Linked DNA regions of Homo sapiens: region 2 is linked to region 1. The links are contacts of gene promoters, found by promoter capture Hi-C in human tissues and cell types (Jung and others, 2019). All regions are on one chromosome and are shown on one strand. Each heading gives the region's core, a stretch centred on a gene start or on the middle of the fragment in contact. The rest is flanking DNA. Distances are from core to core; before and after follow the strand shown.

Evidence for each region. Contacts are between HindIII fragments. The study calls those that stand out against the background at their distance.
Region 2: a contact is called between the fragment with the promoter of RNASEH2A here and the fragment with the promoter of ZNF20 in region 1, in 1 of the 25 tissues and cell types used here (lymphoblastoid cells).

The regions. Positions count from the first base shown.
Region 1 is chr19:12,139,089-12,143,989 of GRCh38, forward strand. It overlaps ZNF20 (zinc finger protein 20), which reads right to left and starts at 1,262. Exons shown (of 4, transcript NM_021143.4): 1 at 1,092-1,262. The coding sequence starts at 1,094. ZNF625-ZNF20 (ZNF625-ZNF20 readthrough (NMD candidate)) reads right to left here. Exons shown (of 8, transcript NR_037802.1): 4 at 3,553-3,627; 5 at 1,092-1,237. It also overlaps the pseudogene RPL17P47. RefSeq lists a silencer at 839-1,048. The HindIII fragment of the contact is 9,607 bases long and covers 1-3,644 here.
Region 2 is chr19:12,803,010-12,808,510 of GRCh38, forward strand. RNASEH2A (ribonuclease H2 subunit A) reads left to right here and starts at 3,575. Exons shown (of 8, transcript NM_006397.3): 1 at 3,575-3,791; 2 at 3,999-4,070; 3 at 4,197-4,320; 4 at 4,410-4,497. The coding sequence starts at 3,665. It overlaps THSD8 (thrombospondin type 1 domain containing 8), which reads left to right. Exons shown (of 2, transcript NM_001386800.1): 2 at 1,095-1,380. The coding sequence ends at 1,294. RefSeq lists a cis regulatory region at 2,822-3,854 and enhancers at 3,299-3,428, 3,629-3,678. The HindIII fragment of the contact is 8,217 bases long and covers 220-5,501 here.

The sequences.
Region 1 (4,901 bases), core at 12-2,511:
ACTCAAATTGAGGCAGGAAAATAGGGTCTGGACGCAGGGAACATAAGGCCTATTCAAACTTCAGCTATGAAAGGAAATACCTACTCCATAGGGCGTAAGCCAAGTAAATGATTTTATAACCTTACTTCATCCTCTCCTTTTACATAGAGTATACCCCAAGTAACCAATGGAATCCTCCAGGGGGTATTTAAACTCCCAAAAATTCTGTAACGGGGCCTTTGAGCCCCTGTGCTCAGCCCCGCTTGCACACTGTGGAGTGTTAAATCCCTTCATTCCTTCCTTGCTTTGTGCGTTTTGTCCAATTCTTTGTTCAAGACGCCAAGAACCTGGACCCCCTCCACCGTTAACAAAATGCAATTCTTCTTAAAACTTTCTGGTACCAAAACCACAAATCATGACTGGGCGTTTCTCACTCATGAATCGCTGTTTGCTCAAACTCTTTAAATTTTTTTTTTTTTTTGAGATGGAATCTCGCTCTGTCCCCTAGGTTGGAGTGCAGTGGCGTGATCTCGGCTCACTGCAACCTTCGTCTCCTGGGGTCATGCGATTCTCCTGCTTCAGCCTCCTGAGTAGCGGGGACTACAGGCGCATGCCACCATGCCCGGCTAATTTTTTGTATTTTTAGTAGAGACGGGGTTTCACTGTGTTAGCCTGGATGGTCTCGATCTCCTGACTTCGTGATCCGCAAGCCTCGGCCTCCCAAAGTGCTGGGATTACAAGCATGGTCCACCGCGCCCGGCCCAAACTCTTTAACAGAAAAAAAAATCCGCAGGATTCCCCCATGACCCTCCCGTGGTCCCCGCAAAATCTGAAGAGACGCGGGGCTGCAGGCGCGGAGCTGCCCAGAGAGGGCTCCAGGGTCGGGGCCCACAGTCGCCCGCGCAGGAACAGAACAGGAGGACGCCCGGGGTCCCGGCTGCCGGCCCAGCCGCACCCTGCGGCCGAGGGGACGCAGGGACGAGCTGAGACAGAGGGATTCGGGTCCCAGATCCAGGAGGCGCGGCGAGGAGGCCCAGATCCCACCACAGCCGCTTCCGGCCGGTTCCACCCAGCCCCTCCCCCGTCTGGGGACTCCGGCCCCATACACTCACCATTTCCCGGCTTCTGGGTGTCCCGGTGTCCTCTCTAGGGCTCCCGTGAATAGTGCGGGTCACGGTGCAGGCGGCAGAGCGACAGAAGTTGTGGCAGAGGGACCCGGGGCCTCTCGGAGTAGGAAATCTGGTATCCCGACAACAACCTGCATAGCAACAAAAGTAGAAGCTGGAATGGGCCTCCTCCTTCCGGACGGACCGTTGGCCGGGCTCCGCCCCGGCGCTTCTGATTGGACAAGGTACAAGGCCCCGCCCCCTCAGAACTGAGTGACGGCAGAAGCCCTGGGTAACGAGCCCTGCAAAGCCGGACTGATCGGTTCTAGCCACAGCTTCTCTCTAAGGGACAACTCCTTCCCTGAGCCCTGGTCATTGGATATTTTCTTTTCAGCCAAATTTGCTCCTGATTTTTACACAGGGCACTATCTTCTTCCTCATTCAATGGGCTGTCAGTGCTTCTTCGTCCTGCACAGGGTTGTAAGTGTGTGCAGGGAATTCCAGACTGAGTGTCCAATGGAGCGATGTGCTGACCTCAGAGCAGGAAGGGGAGCCCAGATCAGGCCAGGCACGACTGCACCAAGAAGGAGAGGCAGTTGTCCTTCAGGGGCCCGGAATTAGGGATGAGACATGGCCAAGGCTTTCACACATCTCACCCCACCTCACAGTGTGGAAACTCTCCCTCCTTCCAGACCTTCATCTTCATCGGCAGAAAACTCTCACTTGGTGATTTTAAGCTTCTGACCTAAATAAACTGTCAACTGCATAAGCCCCTTCTCCAGGAGAGGTCCCAAACAGTTATTTCCCTGAACTTGATCTTTACGGATTTTCTTCAGATATGCAAATTACAGTCTGACCCCAGGGACTCTATGCATGTCAAACCCAAAACACTGCTCCCGAAAACCGCCCCAGATTCCAGATGTACAGCCGCAGAAAGGACAGAACTCCTGAAGTGCACCTGCACGTGGGTCTCCTGCTTTCCAGGGCGCTGCAGCATGTCAGAACCCACACTCTTTCTGGATCTGCTCTGAGCAGCTGCAAGCCACCTGCAGGGGAGGGCGGCTGCCCAGGAAGCACCCAGAACTCCACTTCACTCCTTGGCAGGATCCATACTAGCCTCAGCGTCCCGTCCCTGGCGTCGGTCTCTGCTGCCCCCTGCAGGTTATTCACCTGCTTCTCACATCATTCATCAGTTTCCATGAGACAAACATCCTCAATCCCACTGCGAGAATAACACACGAGCAAAGCTCTCCTCCAGTGTGTATGTATAAAGTCGAGGAGGAAGTGTCCAAGATTATTTAACTGCATGAAAGTGAGGCAGTAGTGGCTGGGCGCTGTGGCTCAAGCCTGTAATCCCAGCACTTTGGGAGGGCGAGGTGGCTGGATCACCTGAGATCAGGAGTTGGAGACCAGCGTGACCAACATGGTGAAATCCCGTCTCTACTAAAAATACAAAAATTAGCCGGGTGTGGTAGAGCCCACCTGTAATCCCAGCTACTCGGGAGACTGAGGCAGAAGAATCGTTTGTATCAAAGAGGCTGAGGTTGCAGAGAGCCGAGATTGCACCACTGCACTACAGCCTGGGCAATAGAGCGAGACTCTGTCTCAAAACAAAACAAAAAAACACACAAATGTTTAGTCATGTTACTTATTTCTGGTTTCCAGCCTGACTTTATAACATTCCTGACTCTGGGACTCTCCAGCTCTCCAGAATTATGCTTTGAAGAAAAAACAAGATAGAGCACAGGGCCCACATGTCTCTTATAAACTGTGAACCAAAATATTACATAGCAGCCATCTGTCAGAACTGCTTCCAGGCTATTGTCCTCAGTCACAATCCTAAATCAAACTCACTTTCTTTAACAAATTTAATTTTTTTTCTTCAGTCCACATGAGTAATCTAAAAGAAACACATAGACAGAAGAATCTCTTTATTATCATCTTTCTACCAAGTCAACATCAAGCATTAAAAAAATGTAAAACAAAGTGAAAACCATCCTTCTCTGATTCATCGTAGACCCAGAATCTGCCAGTCACCAACACCTATCTTCATTTTCTCTATTACGGCCAACTTTTATCTAAGAGATATCATAGGGGCATATTTAATAGAGTTTGTCATTTTGTGTTTTATGAATTTTAGAGGTTTTTTTGTTTTGTTTTGTTTTGAACTTTTATTTGCATTTTCTTTTGGCTGAATTTGTTTGTCTCTTAAGTTTATGTTTCTTCTGGGGTATCTTTTTCTTCCGTGCATCCTCCTTTTCTGCTTTTGGAACAAGGTGTTTCTTTTCACTAAGCATCATCTGGATGTGGCAGGGGAGTTTGTGGATGGGTTCATCTGCCCATGAGTTCTGTAAGTCAGGTGGTACATTATGGGTGCCTTTTCCCTGGATGTGCTCAATAACCAGGGAATCTACATCTATACCCTTAAGTTCAGCATAACTCTGCACTTGTAAGCAAATTTCAGTACCTTTTCGGGGCCACTGATGGTGAGTCCAGCCCCAATGTCTGTCTTGCGTACAGCGACCAACTCCACTTTCTAAGACTGAAATGGTACACATAATTTCTGTAAAAGAAAATATTTCAGATACTTGGTGGCTTTTCATATAGGCATACCTGTGATGGCCTGAGCACCTTCACAGTTTACAGTGAACATGAGGGTTTCATCCTTCTAACATGCACGACTTCGTGGGATTTTCTGGGTCATAGTGAATAATGTTCATAGATCAACTCAGGCCACACAAGAGGACAGGTTTTCTTTGGTCTTTAAAAGGAACTGATTAAAGAAAAAAAAAAAAAAAAGGTGGAAGCCAGGCACAGCAGCTGGTACCTGTAGTGACAGCTACTTGGCAGGCTGAGGTAGAAGGATTGTGAGCCCAGGAATATGAAGCTCTCATGCACTAAGATCACACTTGTGAATATCACTGCACTCCAGCCGGGTCCAAACAGCAAGACCAACTCTCTAAAAAAAAATTACATAATAAAATAATTTAAAAAAAAGTTTGTGGTTAGAAAAAAGTTTTTATTTAAGACATTCATTAAAGAAAAAAGTACTTTGAGAAGAGATTAGGGCCAGGCGTGGTGCCTATAATCCCAGCACTTTGGGAGCCCAAGGTGGCAGATCATGAGGTCAAGAGATTGAGACCATCCTGGCCAACATGGTGAAACCCCATCTCTACTAAAAATACAAAAATTAGCTGGGCGTGGTGGCGCATGCCTGTAGTCCCAGCTACTCAGGAGGCTGAGGCAGGAGAATCTCTTGAACCTGGGAGGCGGAGGTTGCAGTGAGCCAAGATTGCACCACTGCACTCCAGCCTGGCCACAGAACAAGACTCTGTCTCAAAAAAAAAAAAAGATATTAGGCCTGGCGCAGTAGCTCACACCTGTAAGCCCAGCATTTTGGGAGGCTGAGGCAGGTGGGTCACTTGAGGTCAGGAGTTCAAGACCAGCTTGGCCAACATGGAGAAACCCGTCTCTACTAAAAATACAAAAATGGCCGGGCGCAGTGGCTAACGCCTGTAATCCCAGCACTTTGGGAGGCCAAGGCAGGTGGATCACCTGAGGTCAGAAGTTCGAGACCAGCCTGGTCAACATGGTGAAACCCTGTCTCTACTAAAAATACAAAAATTAGCTGGGTGTGGGGGCACACGCCTATAGTCCCAGCTACTCAGGAGGCTGAGAAAGGAGAATCGCTTGAACCTGGGAGTTGGAGGCTGCAGTGAGCCGACAGCACACCACTGCACTCCAACCTGGAGCAAGACTCTGTATCAAAAAAAAAAAAAAAAAAAATTTGAAGGCTGGAAAAAGATTAGAAGGCCG
Region 2 (5,501 bases), core at 2,325-4,824, 670 kb after region 1:
GACTGCTTGAGCCCAGGAATTCAAGACCAGCCTGGGCAACATGGAGAGACCCCCTACTCTACAAAAATAAATAAATAAATAAAAATAAAAAATAAATTAGCCTGCCATGGTGGCATGCGCCTGTAGTCCCAGCTACTCAAGAGGCTGATACAGGAGGACCATTTGTGCCAAGGAGTTTGAAGCTGCAGTGAGCCATGATTATGCCCTTGCATTCCAACCTGGGTAACAGAGCAAGATCTTGTCTCAAAATAAATAAATTAAATAAATAAACAAACTGATCATAATAAATTGGTTTGTATATGCTAGCACAGCACCGGGAGATTTACTTACCTTCATTATGTCAATTATGCCATTTATCACTTGACAACCCTGCTGTCAGGTGGCATTGTGCCTTCTAGGTAGGGCCATGGTCACACCCCTGAAGACAGAAGTCAGCTTCAAATGGCGGGCACCAAGGATGTTGTAGGACACTCACAACTGGGCAGGCTGGCACAGCCTGGAAGTGTCAGGTTGTAGTTCCTCTGGCCCACTTACCCCGTATATGAGCTTGGAAGGTTGGCTTGCTGTCTCTGGGTCTTGGTTTCCCCACCTGAGACTCGTGGAAATATTAAATGAGGCCAGGCATGGTGGCTGGCTCACACCTGTAATCCCAGCACTTTGGGAGGCTGAGATGGGAGTATCACTTGAGCCCAGGAGTTCCAGACCAGCCTGGGCAACATGGTGAAACACCGTCTCTGCAAAAAATACAAAAAATTAGCCAGGCACAGTGGCATGTGCCTGTAGTCCCAGCTACTTGGTAGGCCGAGGTAGGAGGATTGCTTGAGCCCAGGAGGTTGAGGCTGCAGTGAGCTGTGACTGCGCCACTGCACTCCAGCCTGGGCGACAGAGCGAGACCCTGTCTCAAAAAAAAAAAAAAAAAAAAAAAAAAAGCTTAAATGAGATAATCTGTGGCAGGGTGTCTGGCATAGAAGCAGAGTCTAGCGAATATGTGCTTCTCTTATTCGTTAGTATCTTTATCTTTCTCCCTCTCTGGGGGAGGGGATTGGGAGTAGGCCCCCTCCACGTAGGTCTTCACCTCTGCCCTCCTTCTCTAGAAGTCGAGGACTCAATCCTTGGCCCGTGGGGAAAGTGGCGGTGTCTCTGCGACCTGGGCAAGCAGGAGCGCAGCCGCGAGGTAGTGGGCACAGCGCCGGGCCCGGTTTTCATGGACCCGGAGAAGCTGATCCAGTTACGGCCCTGCCGGCAACGGGATTGTCCATCCTGCAAGCCCTTCGACTGCGACTGGAGGCTCTGAGCCCGGGTGAGAGAGCAGGGCCGGGGCAAGTTGCGGGGCCCAGGGTGGGCGCGGAGGGAGGATGTGCGGTGCGGGGCGGGTATGAAGCGAGTTTGAGGAAGGGAGAACTGGGGCTCCAAGTCTTGAGTGACTTGAGGCTGATTTGGTTAGGGGGAAGCTGAGTCAGGAGCCGTGAGCCCCGCTGATATCTAGGGAGAAAAGGAGAAAAGTGGAGGGGGCGCCGGGCGCCGGGGCTCACGCCTGTAATTCCAGCATTTTGGGAGGCCGAGGCAGGCGGATCTCTTGAGTCCTGGAGTTCAAGATTAGTCTGGGCAATATCGTTGAGATCACCTCTCCATAAAAATTTTTAAAATTAGGCCGGGCGCGGTGGCTCACGCCCGCAATCCCAGCACTTTGGGAGGCCAAGGCAGGCGGATCACAAGGTCAGGAGATCGAGACCATCCTGGCTAAAACGGTGAAACCCCGTCTCTACTAAAAATATAAAAAATTAGCTGGGCGCGGTGGCGGGCGCCTGTAGTCCCAGCTACTCGGGAGGCTGAGGCAGGAGAATGGCATGAACCCGGGAGGCGGAGCCTGCAGTGAGCCGAGATCGCGCCACTGCACTCCAGCCTGGGCGACAGAGCGAGACTCTGTCTCAAAAAAAACCAACCAAACAAACAAACAAACAAAAACATTTAAGTTAGATGAGCGTGGCGGCACATGCCTGTGGTCCCAGCTACTCGGTACGATGGGGAGGAAGGATCGCTTGAGCCTGGGAGGCAAAGGTTACAATAAGCCGAGATCGCTACACTGCTATCCAGCCTGGGCAACAGAGTAACATCCTGTCTCAAAAAAAAAAAAAAAAAAAAAAAAAAAAAAAAAGTGGAGGGGGAGGCGAAGAGGAGTAAAAGGAGATAAAGAGACAATGAACTAGGACCCTGAGGAAGGGGCATGAGCCTGGTAAGGGGCGGGAACCCACAGGCAGAGGACATGAGCCCCAGTGAGCCCAGGGAATAGAAGTGGTGGATGCCAGGCACTGTGGCTGGCTCAGGCTTGTAATCCCAACACTTTGGGAGGCTGAGGCGACCGGATCGCTTGAGCCCAGGAGTTTGAAGCCAGCCTGGGCAACATAATGAGACCCCGTCTCTACAAAAAATACCAAAAATAGTCGGGCATGGTGGTGTGGTGTGCACCTGTAGTCCAGCTGCTTGGGAGACTGAGGTGGGAGGATCGCGTCAGCCCAGGAGGTGGAGGTTGCAGTGAGCCAAGATCGCGCCACTGCACTCCAGCCTGGACAACAGAGAGAGACCCTGTCTAAAAAAAAAAGAAGGCCGGGTGCGGTGGCTCACGCCTGCAATCCCAACACTTTGGGAGGCCGAGGCGGGCGGATCACAAGGTCAGGAAATCGAGACCAACCTGGCTAACACGGTGAAACCCCATCTCTACTAAAAAGTACAAAAAATTAGCCGGGTGTGGTGGCGGGCGCCTGTAGTCCCAGCTATTCGGGAGACTGAGGCAGGAGAATGGCGTGAACCCGGGACGCGGAGCTTGCAGTGAGCGGAGATGGCGCCATTGCACTCCAGCCTGGGCGACAAGAGCGAGACTCTGTCTCAAAAAAAAAAAAAAGAAAAAAAAAAAGTGGGTCGAGGGGTGGGGGTGGGGACATTCATTCTAAGTTGGGAGGAATGAGCTTCTATAGGGAGCAGAGACCCTGAGCAGGAGTCCACCGAGGTCTGTGATCTCCAACGGGGGTGGGGAAGGCTTGGCCTGAATGAGACAGAGGTTAGGAAGCACAGATCTTGCACGGAGTGGAGGTGGGCCGAAGGGAGCAACCAAGAGAGGGAGTTTGGGGACTCCAAATCCAAAAGCCTGGGTTTAGTGGAAGCGGGGCTACCTGGTCCAGGGGACTTAGAATGTGTACAGAAGCAGGGACCGCAAGTACAGGGCCTGAATCCAAGTGGCAGTTGGGGACCCAGTGATGCGGTGACCCGTGTCCTGGGAGTGGGGTGATATTTGACTCTCTAGTTCCCCGTTAGGCTGGGTCTTCGAAGCTACGTCTCAGTTTCCCTCTTATTTCCCCCTCTTCCCACCGGGCCACGCAGGCGGGGCCCCAGAGACCGTGAAGCAGAGCTTGCAAAGTGACCCCGTCCACCGAATTCCCCAAGCTGAGTGTTCGGCCATAGCCCTTCGGGACTACAATTCCCAGGAGGGCGCACGGCAGCGACGTCGGCGTCGGCTGCGTAAGCGTCCACGGCGGCGGGAGCGCCAGGGGCGTGTTCTGCCCGCGGATTGGCCGGAAGCAGGCGCCGCTTCGAGGCCCGCGGAAAACGCGCGCCGAGACCCGCTCCTGCAGTATTAGTTCTTGCAGCTGGTGGTGGCGGCTGAGGCGGCATGGATCTCAGCGAGCTGGAGAGAGACAATACAGGCCGCTGTCGCCTGAGTTCGCCTGTGCCCGCGGTGTGCCGCAAGGAGCCTTGCGTCCTGGGCGTCGATGAGGCGGGCAGGGGCCCCGTGCTGGGTGCGCCCCTAGGGCCAGGGAGGGGAGGGGCGTGGTACGGAGGATGCGGGAAACGGGAGTCGGGATTGCACTGCACCAAGGGAGGGGATGTGGTCGTGGTGATGGCACCTAAAGAAGCAGTGATGATAGAACAGGGATGAATGGCAACTTTCACGGGCTCAGTGATTGGACCCCGGCTGCCAGAAAACTGACACCCCTTCTCCCCAGGCCCCATGGTCTACGCCATCTGTTATTGTCCCCTGCCTCGCCTGGCAGATCTGGAGGCGCTGAAAGTGGCAGGTGAGCCCGAGGTGTGCGTCTGGGGAAGGGATTCCTGGGTATGTGCAGGGGCAGGTGAGAACTGAAAGGGGAGGGCAGGAACTGGGAGAACCAGCTGTTCCCCTTCTCTTCCAAACCTCCTCCCAGACTCAAAGACCCTATTGGAGAGCGAGCGGGAAAGGCTGTTTGCGAAAATGGAGGACACGGACTTTGTCGGCTGGGCGCTGGATGTGCTGTCTCCAAACCTCATCTCTACCAGCATGCTTGGGCGGTGAGGGGTCCCCGGGAGGGGCAGCCAGCATGGGCTGACCAAGCTTTGTTCCTAGAATGAGATTAACTGGGCTCTGTTCCCCACCACAGGGTCAAATACAACCTGAACTCCCTGTCACATGATACAGCCACTGGGCTTATACAGTATGCATTGGACCAGGGCGTGAACGTCACCCAGGTGAGTTAACTGTAAGTTGTCCCCATTTGGTCATCTCAGGATAAAATGGGGACAAAACAGGAGTTCGAGACTGCAGTGAGCCATGATCATGCCACAGCACTCCATCCTGGGTGACAAAGGAAGCCCCCCAACTCAAAAATGGAGGCAGGGCGCAGTGGCTCACGCCTATAATCGCAGCACTTTGGGAAGCCGCGGCGGGTAGATCACCGGAGGTCAAGAGTTCGAGACCAGCCTGACCAACATGGTGAAACCCCGTCTCTACTAAAAATACAAAAATTAGCTGGACGTGGTGGCAGGCGCCTGTAATCCTAGCTACTCAGGAGGCTGAGACAGGAGAATCGCTTGAACCCAGGAGGCAGAAGTTGCAGTGAGCCAAGATTGTGCCATTGCACTCCAACCCGGGCAACAGAGCAAGACCCTGTCTCAAAAAAATAAAAAATAAAAAATAAACTAAAAATGGGAGACCAGGCGCAGTGGCTCACGGCTGTAATCCCAGCGTTTCAGGAGGCTGAGGCAGGCAGATCACCTGAGGTCAGGAGTTGAAGACCATCCTGGCCAACATGGTGAAACCTCATCTCTACTGAAAATACAAAAAATTAGCCCAGCATGGTGGCGGGTGCCTGTAATCCCACCTATTGGTGAGGCCGAGGCAGAAGAATTGCTCGAACCCGGGAGGCGGAGGTTGCAGTGAGGTGAGATCGCGCCATTGCACTCCAGCCTGGGGGACAGAGCGAAAAATAAAAATAAAAATAAAATAAAAAATAAATGTGGGCAAAAATGTGCAGTGTGCAGATTCAGCATCAGATACGTCTGGAGTGCCTCGGGCATATTCATTGCTACTGTTGATTTCGTGCTCCTGTTTCTGCCCTAAATGTGTGCCACACTGACGACCACAGTGTAGCCCCTAGTCCCGTCTCCATCTAATCTCTCCCTCATCCTAAAGGCTCAGTCTCCAGAACAAATCCTACATTGTCTACCTGTCACCTCTGTCCTAGCCCAGGACA